2 separate regions of the Homo sapiens genome follow, and region 1 is linked to region 2. The links are contacts of gene promoters, found by promoter capture Hi-C in blood cells and fetal thymus (Javierre and others, 2016). All regions are on one chromosome and are shown on one strand. Each heading gives the region's core, a stretch centred on a gene start or on the middle of the fragment in contact. The rest is flanking DNA. Distances are from core to core; before and after follow the strand shown. Region 1 overlaps GATA4 (GATA binding protein 4). Region 2 holds the start of DEFB134 (defensin beta 134).

Region 1 (2,700 bases), core at 157-2,656, 270 kb before region 2:
TGACTTTTCTGGTTTTTCATTTCCTTACCTGTAATCTGTTCACTCTTGGTCAGCAAGAGAATAATATTGCAGCTACCACTGCCTCTGAGTTTCCTCCTGGAAGACTGAGTCTTATGAAGACCCGGTTTTGAGGAGTTTCCTGGCTGGATCAGCAAAACCACAGTGATCCACATTTGATTGATGTATTTTGAGTTTACATTTATTCCCAATGTTTATTTTCTTGTAAAAATGAGCGCATTATTGATTAAAAGAGAGAGACACAATATCCAAAAGGTGGAAGTAGCCTAGGTGTCCATCCGTGGATGAATGAATGAACAAATGTGGTCTGTGTGCTCAGTGGAGTATTACTCAGCCTTAAAAAGGAAGTCTTGCACTGCTACAACAGATGAATCCTGAAGACATTACGCTAAGTGAAACAAGCCAGTCACCAAAGGACAAACACTCTATGATCCCACTTCTGTGGGGCCCCCAGAGCCGTCAAATTCATGACGACAGAAAGCAGAAGAGGGGTTGCCAGGTGGTGGGGCCAGGATCGGGGTGCGGGAGGATGGGGAGTTAGAGTTTAATGGGTGCAGAGTTTCAGTTTTGCACGATGAAAACAGTTGTAGAGATTAGTTTCACAACAGTGTGAACACATTTACTATCACTGAACTGTACACTTAAAAATGGTTAAGATGGCTAATTTTATATGTATTTTATCACAATTTAAAGAAGAGAAAAATGGAGAGGCAGTGTACAAGCTTAGTAAGTAGAAAGTAAATTGTGAAAACCTTTTTCCTAACACTTCATTCTATTTGCTTCTTTGGCCAAAGGTGTAAGTAGCATTGATGGACGATTAGGTAGAACTAGCCATCCAGAATTGGTTCTACAAGATTGCCTTTCTGGCTCTTCAGTGTTTCTCTTTGCCCAAGCCTCAGTGTTATCCTGCTATCACAGCAGGGCTGATCACTAAGGAGAAGGTTATCCTTGGTGAGGAGGTGGAAAATGGTGATTTTTAAATGTTGTACTACAAGCAACCGAGTTTTGATCTGCAAATCTATCATATTTATAATCTGCATTAAAATTTTAAGTCACATTCATAAAATATAGGAGTGGATGCACTTTTAAAATTTCTTTGGAATGCAAATCAGATTGGATTAAAGCTATTAACCATGTGTAATAAAAGACTGTAGATTTTGTAGCAGCTTCATGCTCTACCTAAGATGTCTGCCAAGTAAGTGAAATGTATTTGTAAAAAGGCAGATGGAACTACTAGACGTATTGTCATCGAACTATTCTCCAGGGGCACTGATTTCAGTGCAGGTGCTTTAGATGGGAGGAAGGCTGAGAGCAGGGTCTGTGGGGCCCCTATTGCAGAGAAGCTCCGTTTCATCTACTTTATATTTGATTTGTAAATGTTTGATTTGCTTGGCTAAAGAATTCTGAGGCTAGAGCAACAAAACAAAACAGAAGGAGAGAGGTTGGGAAGAAAACGTGAAGTAACACCAAAAAACTAACTGCTATTGCAAAACAAGGATAAAATAGATAATTCAAGATAGATGTGATTGATTGCCATAAAGATTCATGAACACGTCAGGTGAACCCGAGTCTGGAGGCTAGAGGAAGAGGAGCCGACGGAATTTGAGGAGGATGTGTGTCTGGTCTGAAGAGGAGGTAGAGACTTCCTGCGAAGGCTAGCAGAGTAAAGGTTTGCTTTCTCCCTTTCCTCCCCGAAGACCAGCACATCAGATGAAAAGAACCCCCCAAATCAAGTAAAACTTTTATCTGCAGTGAAATTAAGAGATAACTCATATCCCCAACTATAGAAAACTGCCGAATATAATATAAATCCAGACCACATGGAGGGAAAGACTTCGAGAGCTGGTCCATACCTCTCAGCTCTCCTGCCTGTTCGCCTCCCAAATGCCCAACCTCCAAATACCATCACATGTGGGTTAGGGTTGCCAGGAGTAAATTTCCTTGTTAATAAAATGAATGAGATAGGAAAGAAAGCGGCAATGTTTTCATTATTTGCAGATAAAATACTGGTCAACTTCACTAAACAAATGTAAATTCCCTGTGGAGGGAGCTATAAAGCTTTACTGAAGGGCATAAAAGAAGACATGAATAAATGGAGAAAGATACTAGATCCTTGGATTGGAAAAGTTGGCAGCATTCTTTATTCCAAACTCCCTCAAACAAATCTATAAATTTAACACAGTCTCAGGAAACATCCCAGCAAGATTTCTTAAATACAACGTGTCCAGCTGATTATAAAATTTATATGAAAGAGTTATTGTACAAGAATAGCCAAGATAATTTTTTAAAAGGAGACTTAAGAAAGGGGAACTTGCCTTATCAGAAATCAAAACAAACTAGAGACACACTGGCACGGAAGCTAAAGCAGTGATGTTCATTGCAGCCCTGTTGTGTGTAGCAGTGAAAAATTACTTGCTGAAATGCAGCCAAGGTATTAGGAATGGGGAGGCTGTGGCATAAAAAGATTGGCATTAGCATTGAATCCTTTCAAATATCATGTACAGCTAAACAGCTGTGAGAATTATGGAGTAGAATGTAAGTGTTATGTGCCTTAACAATGCCAAACTAATAAATCCTCTTCGAAGAGAGAAGTAGATCTGTGCTGATATGGAAAAATGTCTAAACAGATATGCGTCCCTGCAGAAACAGCTGCAGAGGAGTATCCATGGTATGATCCCACGT
Region 2 (2,700 bases), core at 1-2,500:
CCAAGACCATTACAGTGCCAAATTCTTTTCCCCAGAACGGACTATTACTATCATTCTCCCACTATTGATAAGGAGCTCGTTCACTGACTAGGTCACCAACTACCAGCAATTCGTGATTTTACTTAAATATCAGAACAGGACAGCCTCTGAGTTTTGCTCTAAAAGGTAAAGAAGAATTTCAGCAACTGTCAGAGATCGTCTCTTGTTATCTAGACCTCCCCTGGCTCAGCGTCTGGTTCACTGTAGGTGCCACGAGTTGGGAGCTGACCTAGTTCATAGACTTTAGAGATAAAGAGGGGAGATGTGCGCATCATTTGAAAACAAGTATGTGGCTTACCAGCACACCAGCTTTTTCTTTTCATCCATATATTCCCCTAAGGCCACATGGTGCTCTGGGATTAGAAAATGGAGAAGTACAATATGCTCCACGCTAGGACTAGATGGCTCTTTCTTCTGCCTCCTGGGTTTGGTATTTCTTTAGGGTCATCATGCTACTCTTCTCATCTTCCTGATCTGTGGTTGTTCTGCAACTGCCATACTCTCAGCTGCAATTGAAATGTCCCTGTCTGACCCTGAGCCATACAGATTCAATATGCAGCCTTTCCAAATGACAATCCTAATAAACAGAAATGTATTCTAGCCAACAGTGGGAGATGCAGAAGGAAGCAGCTTCTGTATCCTCTGTGAAGAGATGGTCCTCTTTCCCATTACAAATTTTACAGCACCCATTCCTTTTTTTTTCATAGCACTTGTCACAATTGTTACTATATCAATTATTTGTGTCTCTGATTAGACTGTGAAATCCGAGTAGATTCCATGACTGTCTTATTTATCATTTTACACCAGTATTGGGCTGAAAGTCTAGCAGGCCATCAGTGCCAAAGGTATATTTGTTGAATAAATAAATGAACTCTAGATATTAGGTTTATACTTTAACTTTACAATATATAGTAGTTATTCCTTATTCATGGGGCTATGTTCCAAGACCCCCAGTAGATGCTTGAAACAGTCGATAATACTGAACTCTATATATACAGTGCTTTTTTTCTATACATGCAGACCTATGATAAAGTTAAATTTATAAATTTGGCACAGTAAGATTTTAATAACAATAACTAATAATAAAACAATTATAACAATATGCTATCATAACAATACTATAAAAGTTATGTGAATGTGAACTCTGTCTCCCCCAAAATATCTTACTGTGCTATGCTCACTCTTCTTCTTGTGCTGATGTAAGATGATATAATGCCTATGTGATGAGAGGAAGTGAGGAAAACGACATAGGCATTGTGACATAGCATTAGGCTATTGCTAATCTTCTGACCATAGCTCAGAAGGGGGATCATCTCCTTCGGGTGATGCTGGGTCACTGAGCCATGGTGATGTTAGTGGCTGGATCTCAGAAGCATATGATTTCAATAACTAATGGGCAGGTAGTGTTTACAGTGTGGATACACTGGACAAAGGGATGATTCACATTCTGGGTGTGTGGAGCTGCGTAGTGCAAGATTTTGTGTTACTCAGAACAGCATGCAATTTAAAACTTATGAATTGTTTATTTATGGAATTTTGTGTTTATTTATTTATTTATTTTGAGATGGAGGCTTGCTCTGTCACCCAGGCTGGAGTGCAGTGGCGTGATCTTGGCTCACTGCAACCTCTGCCTCCCAGGTTCAAGTGATTCTCCTGCCTCAGCCTCCTGAGTAGCTGAGATTACAGGCACCTGCCACCACACCTGGCTGATTTTAGTATTTTTAGTAGAGACGGGGTTTCACCATGTTGGCCAGGCTGGTCTCGAACCCCTGCCCTCAGGTGATCCACCCACCTTGGTCTCCCAAAGCGCTGGGATTACAGGCATGAGCCACTGCACCCAGCGTATTTAATATTTTGGACTGTGGTTGACTGTAAGTAACTAGAACTGTGGCTGGGTGGGGAACTACTGCAGATATATTCCTAACAGCTGGTATTTGGAGCACTTTTAGGCATCAAGGATTGTAGTATGTATTTTTTTTAATATTGCCTCACTTAATCTTACAAATGATCTCTTAACTAGACATTTTCACAATTCACATTTTCAAGATGTTGAAGCAGAGATTTGAGTAATTCTTCTAAAATCACACATCTGGGACTGATAAGTCTTACAGAGATTCTAGAACCCAAATTAATTAACCACTCTTCTATATTGTCTCCTGGGACAAAGGGGTTCTGAAATATAGCAAAAATTCTACTTTGAATCTAGTCTGGGCCAGCCAGGAAGAATTAGTAGATGCCAGGGCCTGGGGAGCTAGAACCTATGGTAAGGAAGTGACACTGAAAAAGCTAAAGAATCTTTCTTTCTTTCTCTCTCTCTTTCTTTTTCTTTCTTTCTTTCTCTCTCTCTTTCTTTTTCTTTCTCTTTCTTTCTTTCTTTCTTTCTTTCTTTCTTTCTTTCTTTCTTTCTTTCTTTCTTTCTTTCTCTCTCTCTCTCTCTTTCTTTTCTTTCTTTCTTTTCTTTCACAGACGTCTTGGGACGCAAAGGGCCAAGGCATCAGAAACACTTGGTACCAGCTTCCACAGCAACAATGAGAGGTAACCCCAGTGCTTCCACTACCAACAGGACATTACCACTTGCAGGCAGAGAAACAGACAAGAAAAATAGTGGATGCCACATATTAGGACTCGTCTGAGACATGATGCAAGACTTTTTAGAAAGAA

What was found. The method cuts DNA at HindIII sites, captures the fragments that hold promoters and counts their contacts. A CHiCAGO score of 5 or more calls a contact.
Region 1: a contact is called between a fragment that was not itself captured here and the fragment with the promoter of DEFB134 in region 2, in 6 of 17 cell types (neutrophils, M2 macrophages, M0 macrophages and 3 more). The highest score is 6.0, in neutrophils.

Annotation. Positions count from the first base shown.
Region 1 is chr8:11,731,048-11,733,747 of GRCh38, forward strand. The region is part of intron 2 of GATA4 (GATA binding protein 4); the gene reads left to right. Among named protein-coding and RNA genes, the nearest start is that of SNORA99, 27 kb to the left of the region's middle. The HindIII fragment of the contact is 1,336 bases long and covers 739-2,074 here.
Region 2 is chr8:11,999,502-12,002,201 of GRCh38, forward strand. DEFB134 (defensin beta 134) reads right to left here and starts at 1,251. Exons shown (of 3, transcript NM_001302695.2): 1 at 1,207-1,251. It overlaps LOC105379245 (a long non-coding RNA gene), which reads left to right and starts at 2,632. Exons shown (of 3, transcript XR_001745644.2): 1 at 2,632-2,700. It also overlaps the pseudogene OR7E160P and the pseudogene LOC100421446. The HindIII fragment of the contact is 7,293 bases long and covers 1-2,700 here.